Regions from separate parts of the Homo sapiens genome. Here all the other regions are linked to region 1. Evidence: promoter capture Hi-C in 16 types of primary human blood cells and fetal thymus (Javierre and others, 2016). All regions are on one chromosome and are shown on one strand. Each heading gives the region's core, a stretch centred on a gene start or on the middle of the fragment in contact. The rest is flanking DNA. Distances are from core to core; before and after follow the strand shown. Region 1 holds the start of IL21-AS1 (IL21 antisense RNA 1). Region 2 overlaps TRPC3 (transient receptor potential cation channel subfamily C member 3). Region 3 overlaps TRPC3 (transient receptor potential cation channel subfamily C member 3). Region 4 overlaps TRPC3 (transient receptor potential cation channel subfamily C member 3).

Evidence for each region. Contacts are between HindIII fragments. The CHiCAGO score rates a contact against its expected background, and 5 or more counts as called.
Region 2: a contact is called between a fragment that was not itself captured here and the fragment with the promoter of IL21-AS1 in region 1, in 2 of 17 cell types (megakaryocytes and erythroblasts). The highest score is 6.8, in megakaryocytes.
Region 3: a contact is called between a fragment that was not itself captured here and the fragment with the promoter of IL21-AS1 in region 1, in 1 of 17 cell types (megakaryocytes). The highest score is 5.2, in megakaryocytes.
Region 4: a fragment that was not itself captured here is called in contact with the fragment with the promoter of IL21-AS1 in region 1 in 2 of 17 cell types (endothelial precursors and naive CD4 T cells); the score reaches 6.0 in endothelial precursors.

What each region holds. Positions count from the first base shown.
Region 1 is chr4:122,617,396-122,620,386 of GRCh38, forward strand. It overlaps IL21-AS1 (IL21 antisense RNA 1), which reads left to right and starts at 1,588. Exons shown (of 11, transcript NR_104126.1): 1 at 1,588-2,097; 2 at 2,573-2,770. All of the region lies in intron 2 of IL21 (interleukin 21), which reads right to left. RefSeq lists an enhancer at 2,758-2,991. The HindIII fragment of the contact is 3,552 bases long and covers 1-2,948 here.
Region 2 is chr4:121,915,814-121,919,006 of GRCh38, forward strand. The region is part of intron 3 of TRPC3 (transient receptor potential cation channel subfamily C member 3); the gene reads right to left. Among named protein-coding and RNA genes, the nearest start is that of TRPC3, 35 kb to the right of the region's middle. The HindIII fragment of the contact is 194 bases long and covers 1,768-1,961 here.
Region 3 is chr4:121,897,388-121,900,800 of GRCh38, forward strand. It overlaps TRPC3 (transient receptor potential cation channel subfamily C member 3), which reads right to left. Exons shown (of 12, transcript NM_001130698.2): 10 at 2,225-2,308. Among named protein-coding and RNA genes, the nearest start is that of BBS7-DT, 28 kb to the left of the region's middle. The HindIII fragment of the contact is 5,104 bases long and covers 1-3,413 here.
Region 4 is chr4:121,880,774-121,884,088 of GRCh38, forward strand. TRPC3 (transient receptor potential cation channel subfamily C member 3) reads right to left here. Exons shown (of 12, transcript NM_001130698.2): 11 at 1,581-1,656. Among named protein-coding and RNA genes, the nearest start is that of BBS7-DT, 12 kb to the left of the region's middle. The HindIII fragment of the contact is 810 bases long and covers 1,078-1,887 here.

The DNA.
Region 1 (2,991 bases), core at 338-2,837:
CTGAAAATACTGACTGCTTCATCCGTGATGATCTGAAAAACCAGCATTTCTCACAGAGGCTCATTTTGCTGAGTTAACATTTACATGTGTATGCTGAAAGAAAATTAGGTTCCAAAGAAGTAGAGGGGCCCTGCCAGCCAAATGAACTCCCTTGAGATAATATTGCCAGGAATGGTCAGTACCGGTACTCAAAGCACTGAAATTGTAAAACTACAATTTCAGTTGTAAAAACAACTGAAAATCTTTTCTGAAAGCCTTTGAATGGTACCTGGACACTGACGCCCATATTGATGGGGCTGTGCTTCCTCTCCCACCCTTCCTTGTTTACCTCTGTTAACAGACAATGGGGTTTTGTTTTCTTCTGTTCTGCAAGCAGCAGAGCTGTGTCTGGCAATATGTGGTCCAGGATAAATAACTGCGGGAATTGGCTTTATATGCACATCAAAGGCAGCCTCAAAAGAGGAAAAGAAGTAGAGGGCTGTCGCCACTAAACTGCCTTAAGGATGTATTGAGAAGGAGAGTGAAAAGATTAACCTTGATTTAGGCAGCCTCAGGTGCCCTATCACTCAGGAGTCTACAGGATGCCAACTCCATATTTAGCACTGTCTGGAAGCATGAACATTGCTTTCCTTTGCTATGCCTTGGTGACAACAGACTCCAAAGGCAAGACTTTGTTTCCCTCATGCTTTAACATATGAGAACATGAGGAGTTTTCTGCTGCTACATTGTTTTGCAGACTAGAAGGAGCGGTAGTAAAGTCAAACGCAAGAATTAACAAACCATTCCTCTTCAGCTGAAGAACAAGTCAAGTGCTGCTTTTGCCAGGAGTCACACTTGGCTTTGTTGTTTTGCAATTGAATTTTTGAAATTTTTTACCTCCTTAGGGCTTTTTTTTTTTTCTTTTGTAGAAACAGGATGTCTCACTATTTTGCCCAGGTTGTTCTCAAACTCTTGACCTCAAGCAATCCTCCAAACTTGGCTTCCCAAAAGGATTACAGGCATTGGGATTACAGGCAGGAGCCACTTCACCCAGCTGAGGCCTATTTTTACATTTTTTTCCTTTTGCAAAGAAAGCCCTGGCCATTCACACTAAGAAGTCTTGCTAATTGGGCAAGACTACCTTTGTCCTGGCTGGGTGCAGTGGCTCACGCCTGTCATCCCAGCACTTTGGGAGGCCAAGGCAGGTGGATCACGGGGTCAAGAGATTGAGACCATCCTGGCCAACATGGTGAAACCCCGTCTCTACTAAAAAATACAAAAATTAGCTGGGTGTGGTGGCGTGCGCCTGTAGTCCCAGCTACTCGGGAGGCTGAGGCAGGAGAATCGCTTGAACCTGGGAGGCAGAGGTTGCAGTGAGCTGAGATCGCACCACTGCACTCCAGCCTAGCAACATATCGAGACTCCGTCTCAAAAAAAAAAAAAAAAAAAAAAAAAAAGGATTACCTTTGTCCTACACACAAACTAGGTTTATATCAGGGTTTCTCAACGGTGATACCACTGACATTTGGGGCTAGATAATTCTTTGTTGTCAGGGCTGTCTTGTGCATTCTAGAATGTTTAGTACCTGGCTTCTACCTACTAGATGCCAGTAGCACCCCCATTCTACCTCCAAGTGTGACAACCAGAAATTTTTCCAGCCAATGCCAAATGTTTTCTGGGGCACAAAAATCACCACCGGTTGAGAACCACTGGTTATATGATTAGACGGAAAGAAAAAGAGAAAAAGAAAGATGCCTGGCTAGGCCAATTAGAGATCTTAGATAATTACTATATGCATGCAACATTAGATAGTTTTATTTTCATTAAACTTTTAAATCTTTTAAAATCTCTTACAGACCCTACTTTGAAGCTAGCTTGATATAATGCTAATGTGACCTTGAACGATTTCTTTCTTCCTGAGTTTGCCTACTAGTATAGCTTAAAGATCCAAGTTACACTATTACTCACTTATATCATAGCCAGCATTGCTTGATCAGATTATCAGATAGATACAGTATCACGGAGACAAAATCCTTTCATTATGATGTAAGATAAAAAATATCTTTCATTAACAACACACGTAAAGGAAGTACCCACTGGACCAACTCAGGTTAGAAGGTGGAATCTCTTTCTTATTTCTTATTTTGCAAGTTATAGACTACAGCCAGGAAACTCTGGAAAGAACTCTAACCATAACAGTTAAACAAGGTGCATGAGATGCTAGAAATGTATGTTTTGATAATTAGGCACATTGATTAAGAAGTATTTTCAGTTATTGGAAAAGTCTTTCCAATAAGCTGAATGTGCTACTTTCATTTTAGATGCTGCTTATTAGAAAAGGACCTAGTAAATGAGAGTGTTTGGGTTCAGAGCTAGAGAGTGAATTTTAGAGAAAAGCAATAGTTGTGACTCATTCACTTTCTAAACTTTTACACATAGTCATTTACGATAATTGTTTTCTTTGCAATGTATCTTCTTAAGTCTCCCCCTTTGTAGTGTCCTAATTACTGGTAGCACTTTTAGTTATTCTAATTTATGCAATTAAAGGTCTGTGACAATGAAAACATTTCCCCAATTGCATTTATACTCTCAGGGTACCAGACCAGAAGATCAGATCGTAGAAGTTACTGGAGAAAAAGATCAGCGGACAGCACTCTTGAACTACATGCCAGGCCTCTTCTTCCTGGAACTCTAATGGATTTAAATGGCTTAAGAGACGGGATGAATTGTTGAAAATGGTTCTTTCAAAAGACCTCACGGAAGGCCAAAGACAAGACTCACTGAGGCCAAGGTATATGTGAATTATATTCTGAAGGACAGCTTTGATTTCCACACCACCATTTCTCCATGCTGTCCCTGTAATCTAATTCTTTCTTTCTTTCTTTTTTAAGTTTGTTATTAAAAGGTTAATTCTGCTTCCTACTGTATGTATCTATGTTTCTTCGGTAGGATAACAAAGAAGGCTCAAAAGCTTTCATGCCCAAGGGCTCTTAAAGAGTAACTAGCTGTGCA
Region 2 (3,193 bases), core at 615-3,114, 700 kb before region 1:
TGTAAAGGTCCCTATGCCAAAATCTGCCCATTTGTAGCTAGACACACCTTTTTTTGAATGGTCATATGCTCTTTGTCCAAGCTCAGGAATTCAAAAATCAACTATGAGTGACAACATATTTTTTAAAGGAGTTCTTAGCAACACAAAAATCAAGGTGTCACTGTCTTCTAAAAAACAGAATAAGCAATAACAATGAACCTGTTAAGAAACACCCATGAAATGTTTTTGGGAACTGAGAAACAGAGTAGCTGCAGTTCCTACTTGTCAAAAGGTTCCTCTTTGATCAAGTTCTAGTTAATAATCCTGATGATTCTTAGTAACTCCAGGCAATTCCTAGAGTTATTAATATTTGGCTCTTTATCAAAGCCCACCTACAAGGAAATGCACAGGTTTCCACTGACTGGTGCATAGTTTCCCATCAACAATTTTAATTAAAAAAGAAAGTCTCATCTCCCAGGACAGGCGATGTAGGTTCAATTTCCCCCAAATCCCTGCCTTTGCCCCCAGAGTGCACCCAGTGTAAAGTCCACTGATGGCTGCACTGGCAGCTGCCTCCGCATCACCATACATGCGTACTTAACGACCCACAGACAGAGGTGGTGAGAATAAATTTATGAATATTAGATTTGAAATAATTAACTGAGTTATTATGTTGAGATTCTAAGCCTCAATGTGATGGGTATTAGAAAGCTAGGCTTTTGGGAGGTAATTAGATCATGAGGGAGGAGCCTTCATGAATGAGACTGGAGCCCTGATAGGAAGAGGCAGGAGAGCTCGCTCTTTCCACCATGTGAGGATACAATGAGAAGTCAGCAGTCTGCAACCCAGAGGAGAGCCCTCATCAGATCTTCACTATGCTGGCATCCTCATTTTGGATTTCCAGCCTCCAGAACTGTAAGAAATAATTTTTTTTTTTTGAGATGGAGTTTCTCTTTTGTTGCCCAGGCTGGAGTGCAATGGCACAATCTCGTCTCACCACAACCTCCACCTCCCGGGTTCAAGTGATTCTCCTACCTCAGCCTCCCAAGTAGCTAAGATTACAGGCATGTGCCACCATGCCTGGCTAATTTTTTGTATTTTTAGTAGAGACGGGGTTTCTCCATGGCGGTCAGGCTGGTCTCAAACTCTCAACCTCAGGTGATCCGCCCGCCTCAGCCTCTGAAAGTGCTGGGATTACAGGCATGAGCCACCACGCCTGGCCGAGAAATAAATTTCTGTTGTTTATAAACCACCCAGCCTATGGTACTTAGTTACAGCAGCCTGAACTAAGAAGCATATTTTATCATGCGAGTTCCTTTCCATTCAGTTTTCAAAATCCCAGGTCCTGATTTTCAGTAGCTGCTAGTTGCTAAGGATGTATTAGATCTTCTCTCCAAACCCAGGATTTTGTCACTTTTCCAAGGTTCTAAGTTTTGAAAACAGCATTTCATAGACCAATGCAATCATTATTTGAACTCACGAATATCAAAGTTGAAGGCTTCCTGGGTATATGTGACAACTTTCTAGGATTCTTGTTGAGAACTTCTCCAAACTTCCACTTCTGCTCCTGTACTATATTTAGATCATTTCCTTCCTGCTTCACCTCTCCCTCTATGGTCCCTAAATGTCCTTCATTCATTCATTCATTTATTCACTCATCAAAATGTCTTAAGCCCCTCCTATGATCCAGGCAGTATATTGGGCAAGTGTATTGGTACAAGAAGATAAAAATGGAAGCATCAGAGTTGAATTAAGTGATAAGAGGTCATTGTTCTAGGGTACACAGTAAGCTTTGAATAGACACAAAATAAGCTATTATAACTGAGACTTCAACTCATAGGCTTGTCAAGATGCCTAATCAGAATTTAAAAGAGTCTTAATTTGAATGTTGGTACAAGTATCTTGATATTTGGAGGATCTGCATTTGTGGGAAGTTAGACAGATATAAATAAAAGGCATCCCTGGTGGCTGCAGCCAGGCTAAGCTTAGGACAGATAATGGTGCATTCAGGGTAAACTACAGGTGGAGCATATAATGTCATTAAATCAGATTACCACTTAGGAAATCAACAATGTAGTTTTTAGACCAACAGTTTCTGTAGGAAACAAAATTCCCATGAAGTTAAGAGACAGGTGGGCATGTGTCTATATGGAATTGATGGACAAATTTCCCTTTTGTGAGTGTCTGGTAGCTATCGTTTGAATGTGTCTCCTCCAACATTCAGGTGCTGTCAATGTGGTAGAGTTAACAGGTGGGGCCTTCAAGAGGTGATTAGGCCATGAGGGCTGCTCCCTTGTTAATGGTATTAAGACGCCTATAAAAAAGACTTCATGCAGCATTCAGCTAGCTTGCTCTTCTACTCTTCTGCCATGTGAGGACGTAGTGTTCCTCCCCTCTAGAGGATGCAGCCCTCACCAGACTACCAAACCTGCTGGTGCCTTGATCTTGGACTTCCCAGCCTCCAGAACTATGAGACAAGAAAGTTTTGTTCTTATAAGTCTCTCCATCTCAGGCATTCTATTGTAACAACACAAACGGACTAAGGCACTAGTCGTTCTTAGGTTTTAAACTCTTGAGGACAGAAATATTAATGTTATAGCATATCTCCCTTTCCTACTCCTCCTCCTTGGACTAATTTTTAAATTTGAAGATGTGCTTTATGTCATTAATTACATATTTATAAAGATTGCACAGCTTCAAAGACTTGATGGACTCAATCCTTCCCATATGGCATATATGTGATGGTCAATCTTTGACTTGATGTAACCTGTACTACAGTGCAAACACTTACTCTACATTAAGTAGTAACCAAAATTGTGGGTGTTTGCATTTTGCCTGTTACACTTTAAAATTCAGCTTAACAGGTCTATTTCCTATGCTTCTAATTCTACTCTTTTTTTTGAGATAATTATACACGACTTCATGGATTCTGTCGATTCCATTTAATCCACACAAACAGATTTTCCTCCAATGATGTAAAATCCTAATGCAAGTACACAAGGAGCATTTCAAAAAAGAAAGTAAAGCCAGTACAATAATAGCAAGTGAAGGCAAAAAAGCTAATCCCTTTAGGAGATGAGTTTTGGTCTTTTCAATGACTTCGAAATAGGGCAGTGACCTTTATACCTGAAAAGTGTTTTACCTCCTGAAAAATCTCCTTATGTCACTACACCAGTTATGCCCAACTGGATAACATTTGTATGCTGTTTCCTAA
Region 3 (3,413 bases), core at 14-2,513, 720 kb before region 1:
GCAAATTGCTCATCCAATAGGGGATTAATATCCAGAATATACAGGGAACTCAATCATCTCAACAGCAAAAAAAAAAAAAAAAAAAAAAAAAAAAAAAAAAAAAAATTCCAATTAAAAATGGGCAAATAATCTGAACAGACATTTCTCAAAAGAATACATACAAATGGTCAATGATATATGAAAAAATGCTCGACATCACTAACCAAACCACAATGAGGTTATCATCTCACTCCAGTTAGAATGTCTACTATCAAAAAGACAAAAAAAAAATGCTGGTAAGAATGCAGAGAAAGGGAACTCTAATATGTTGTTGATGGGAATGTAAACTAGTACAACCATTATGTAGAACAGTATGGAGGATTTTCCAAGAACTACAAATAGAGCTACCATATGATCCAGCAACCCCACTACGGGAATTTATCTAAAGGAAAAGAAATCATTATATCAAAGAGACAACTGCACCCACATGTTTTATTGCAGCACTATTCACAATATTCAAAATATGAAATCAACCTAGGTGTCTAACAGCAGATGAATGTATAAAAAATGTAGTATATATACACAACGGAATGCAATTCAGCTATAAAAAAGATTGAAATCCCATCATTTGCAGCAACATGGATGGAACTGGAGGACATTATGTCAAGTGAAATAAGCCAGGAACATAAAGTTAAGCACCGCATGTTCTAACTCATAAACTCATATGTGGAAGCTAAAAAAAGTTGATCTCACAGAGGTAAAATGTAGGACGAAGGATACTAGAGACTGGGAAGGGTAAGGGGTAGGGAGGGATATGGAGAGATTTGTTAAAGGATACAAAATTACCGCTAGATAGGAGGAATAACTTCTAGTGTTCTACACCAGGAGTCCCCAACCCGCAGATGAAGGACTGGCATCTGTCCGTGGCCTGTCAGGAACCAGGCTGCACAGCAGGAAGTGACAGGCTGGCAAGCGAGCATTACCGCTTGAGCTCCACCTCCTGTCAGATTAGCAGCGGCATTAGATTCTCCTATTATTGTGAACCCTATTGTGAACTGCACATGTGACAGATCTAGGGTGTGCACTCCTTATGAGAATCTAATGCCTGAAGAGCCTGAAGATCTGAGGTGGAACACTTTCACCCTGAAACCATCATTCCACCCCATCTGTGAAAAAATTGTCTTCCACAAAACCGGTCCCTGGTGCCAAAAAGGTTGGGGACCACTGTTCTATACCACTATAGCATGACCATAGTTAACAATGATATATTAATATTATATAGTTTCATATAGCTAGAAGGAGGATACTGAATGTTACCAACACAAAGAAATGATAGATGTCTGAGATGATGGATATGCTAATTACCCTGATCTGATTCCTACATATGTATCAAAACATCACTATGTAGACAATGAGTAAGTATAATTATTTATCAATTAAAAATAAAGTTAGACAAAACCAATAAAACAAAAATAAACAAATATGTAAAATTTACAAAAATTTTCTTAAAAAAAAGACTTTGACAATCAGTGGGCTGAGCCATTTTGTGGTTTCCTGCTTCTAAAAAAATTGGATAAAAAATAGAACAATACGCAGTAACGGACATCACCAATATATTATAAATTCCTTGATCGTCACTTTTGTGAACTTATACACATTAGAAAGTCAAAGACTTGATGATCGAAATGATCAACGAGATGAAAAACAAAGGGCTATAACTTCCCCTGAGTTGGAGAATAGTGTTCAAATGTCACATCCAGTATCAAAATGCAAAAGATATTTTAAAGTAGCACTCATGAAACAGTATAGCCAAACAATCCATTTAAAAAATGGATCACCTGAAAGAAAAACCTAGAGAAAAAACAAGTTTTCCTGCCATGGGAGCATTATTCATTCTAACATACTCTGTCTTCTACTGCTTTCTCCAGTTTAAGTTATACATTATTTGGCAATTGTAGCAACACTTTGCTTTCAATATTGTGAGAGGAACTCTTAGTTAAAAAAATGAAGGACTTGGACTCTGATTTCTAAAGTCTCCTCCAACTAACATACTATTTTCTTTTATTTTTAATTTTTTTTTAAAAAATTTCACAGGTGTTGAATCATTTTCTTTGTTCTGAACTATCCTCATGGTATAATGGTATATCTCAAGAATATAACTCAACTCATGACACACACACAAACACACACGCAGACATATATGGAATCACATAGAGATCAAGAGATACGTCTAATGAATGCTTACCTGATAACGTGTTGGCTGATTGAGAATGCTGTTAAAACTGTGTGATTCAAAAACTCTTGAGTTAGACTGAGTGAAGAGGTTTAACTAGGAAAAAATACAATTAACCTAGTAAATTAGAATACATTCATTTGGAATAAAAAATATAATCCATTTATTCTCCTTGATAACATTTCTGGAGTCAACATTCCCAAGAAACATTTTGTGGAAGTTGAGCTTTGTAAGTGATGTAATATATTCCCAAAGGTTAAAATTACTGTGAGCAATATGCTCACATTTATCAAAATGTTGGCAGGATGTACTACTGTAATAGAACTATTTAATGGAAAATATATGTTAAAAATTGGCTCATAATAAACATAATTTTCCCTGGGGACCTTGTATACTTTATCAAAATGTACTCAAGGCATCTAGAAGGCCAAATTCCATAGAAGTTTGATCTGTTCCTGAGCCTAAGTTCCTCTTCTAGATTTGAATAGAAACATATTGCAGGTTCAGATGGCACCATTTGGTATTTTGCAGCCCTAAAATATTAGCCAAAATAACACATCTTCCAAAGCATCTTGGCCTTATGCTAAGCCAGGTTCACAATTTTGGAGAGAATTGGGCTAAAGAATTTTGGTTTCCTTTTCTTTTCTCTCTTTTTCTTTTTAAGGTTTAGCTTTTGAGTGGGTAGGAACAGGAAGCAAGAGGAACACACAGGTAATACCTAGTCTTCATGTATACGAGCAGGGCCTCTTATCTGTGGCCAAGCTCTGCCACTGTAAGGTGTGATTCAAACACATGGCCCTCTAGCCAAAGAGATGATTTACCTCACCACCTAACTTCCCACCATTATAACTCAGGAAGGTGTGGGATGCTAAGAGATAAGGAAGTGCCACTGATAGGCAAGGACCTTCATTTGTTCTCTTACAATTGTGCCTGGAGAAAACCTTAGCTAACAAAGTTAATTCTCCAATCGGCCACTGGAGGCCAGTATCTGATTGCTGACTGAGGTTAGCTGTCTAGGTTAGCTGGAAAGATTTCTTGAGGTTCCTTCCTCTCTTCTAAAAAAGAGAAATAGAAAAGTATAATTTCTCCAAATTTCTGCTGCATTCAATACATGAAGAGTATCTATGAATATGAGTAATATTAAAGAGATGTAAACAGCTATATGCAAAATTTTTAAAAATGAAATCAAAATTTTATTATT
Region 4 (3,315 bases), core at 233-2,732, 740 kb before region 1:
TGACTTAGGTTTTTATAATAAAATGGCATTTAAAACACACCTTTGATGATATTTCCTGGTATCTTTAATATGCTTTAAAGTATAATTTCAATATTCTTCTATTATATAAAAGTCAGAGCATTTTTATTTGAAAAGAATTCTAACTCAGGAATACACACAAAACATTTGAGGAGCCCTTTTGTGGCAAAAAAAAAAAAAAGTGCTTCCTTTGGCATATGGCAATATAAAAGGAATAAACTGATCTTATTTGAAATCATGAGGCAGACTTCAGTGGAAGGAGTGGATTCTCACACCATTCAGTACCGCAGGAGACCCCCTGCCCTACTTCACCTTCTACTATCCTTTCTTCCTTGTCCCCGACTCATGGGGAGACTACAACCTATGTGTTGTATTAAATATTTAATCTGCCAATTCAGGAAACACAAGTTACTCAAACTCTTCAGATTTTAGTTTCCTCATTAATTAAATGAGGAGATTATATGACACATTTTCTTAGTAAGAACTTTGTTCAAAACTCCAAATTCTCATTGATTTTCCCCTTTTGTGCAAGGGCTTGGGAAATGCTTCTTGTTTTTTATGCCGTTTTAGCCATACAGTTCTTCCCACTTTGTTCCTCCCTCTCCACCCCCCATGGAGATTACGGTACAACTCATCAGACTTCTGCTTTCTAAACTACAACCTCATTCCAATCCTTTCTCCTGAGACAGATTGATTAGGTCACCATGATTAGATTTTTGCTAGTTATCGATTATAAATTCACAGGTTTCTCTTCTACATACATACACTATTGGATTGATTTACATTTAAAATGCATTCCTTGTATTAATCAAGTAATGGCTTCAAAGCCTATGAACAATTTTATTAAGTTTAGTCCTTTCCTCTTTTATCAGTGTAGATAGATTTAGTGGCATCTCATTGGTGTTGGAAGGTACAGTTTCCATTTTTAGGGCAACTTATTTCTCCCTGGTTGATTTCTTTCCAACTCTGGGCCTGTGTTTAGCTCTACATCCTAGACTTTGGTAAAAAATTTTTATAGTCCAGAGAGATGCCCTGCCTCAAATATGCCTTAAAAAAATAAGCTTGCTTAAAGTAAGGAGGCAGGGGGGAAAGTGAAATTCAAAAGAGACGCACCAGACAAGAAAAACAGGTTAAAAATGTGTTTCTGAACAATAAAACAGAGGTTTTCCTGAAGACATGAATTCTGTTTGAGTCACTGTTCTTTTATCTGCTTAACTGGAAAAATGTTAACACTAATGTGAACTCATTGAAAATGTAACCAATACTTACTGACTACCTTATGTCAGAAGGATTAAAAAACTCCTAGAAAGATGTCAGTCTTTACATTCTAAGAATCAGTTAGGGCACTATGAGTAGAGATAAATTGCCTCTGATCAATATTGTAAATAACTGTTTATTTTAAAAGATGAAGTTTTAGAAACGTAACATAAGATCCTCCTCCCATCTTAGAGGCATCCAAACTATAACCTGGGATTGGATTTTTAAAATATGCCTCAACATTAAGTTTTCCAGGTTCATTAAGTTAGCTATAAAAGGATATTTTTTAAGTTGGAGATGCTTACCTTCATTAACTTCATCATTTTCTTTGTCTACTTGTGCTTTCAAAACATACCGCTTTATAAGTCTTTTCATTATCTGCTGTTGGGCAAAAGTAAATGATTAGATCTCCAATGATATACATAAGTGCCCCAATCCTATTTTCCAAAGAGGCTTACATACCTGTAAAGCAAACAACTCAGGGGAGAAAAAAATTTTATAACTATGTATAGAAAAATTACGCAGGTTTCAGAACTTAACTCTCTTAATGCCTTCTACTGAGACTTACTGCATAATCCACCAATACTTTTTTTTTGCCTCAGAAACGGAAGAAGCTTTTAAAAAGAAGTTAAGCTTGAAGATTTGAATTCATGGCTCCTCTTTCAACTAATAGTTTCTTTTTAAATTACATTGACACCACATTATCACCCATAGACACTACCTTATTTCCCAGTATTTAGAAAAATACATCAATGTATACTCTATATAGAGAATTTGGAAAATATACAGAAGAACAAAATAAACAAATGAAATCATTGGCAACCTCACCAGCCAAAGATAATCACTGTTTTCATTTTGGTGTATGCCCTTCCAATATCTTTTCTTTAAAATTTGTATATATACTAATTACTGTAAGTATTATATTTTATGTTTTCTAAATGCCATATATTTTGTTATATTGCATACGTTTCTCTAATAGCAATATATGTGACTATTTTCAGTCTAAATAAATGCTCTTCTAGGATAACTGTTTACCCATATGGAAAAAATTAAATTGGAGCCCTATTTCATACCATGAACACAAAAATTAATTCCATTTGCATCTTAAATGTGAAAGACAAAGCTTCTGAACCCTTAAAAGAACGTATTATATAAGAGAGTATATTTATAAATTTGGGGTAGACCTGTATTTTTAAAAAAACAAGATTAAAACTTCTGATTACAATAGAAAAGACTGATAAATTCAACTTCATTACAATTTAAAATTTCTGTTTAAAGAGATACTATAAAGAAAGTGAAAAGGCAAGCCATAAACTGGGAGAAAATATTGGTAATGCTTGTAATTAAAAATAATTTATATCCAAATATATAAAGAACTTTAATTCAATAAGAAAAACTCAAATAACCCGATTTTAAAATGGGCAAAAGACAAACAAATGTTTCACAGAAATGGAAACGTGAAGGGTCAACAAGCTTAAGAAACAATTTCAAACTCTGTTGCAGGGAAATACAAATTATGACTAAAAGGAGACACAATTTTACATCTAATAAAGAGAACGATTAATAAATCTGGTTATGCCAAGTGTTAGAAAGGATATGGATCAATGGGGACTTTTATATTTTACTGGCAAGACTGCAGACAACTTTGAAGACAATTTAGTACTATCTTTTTAGTTTTTAAATTGATTTCTATTAACAAAATTTTAGAGGTGGAGTCTCACTATATTGCACAGGCTTGCCTCAAACTCCTGGGCTCAACGCTGTCCTCCTGCCTCAGCCTCTCAAGCAGCTGGAGCTATAGACATGACCCACTGCATCCAGGTGGTATTATCTTTTAAAGTTGAACATTTACATACCCTTTCAGCTAGAAGTCCACTTCTCAGTAAAAGGCCTAGAGAAACTTTGTAGGTATGAACCAAGAGACATACAACAATGTTTGTAGCAACCCTGTCTGAAATTGCAAAACACTGGAAACAATCTAAACAAATATTAACAAGAATAGACAAATTGCAGTATTTTCAATGTAATGTTATTGTGTTC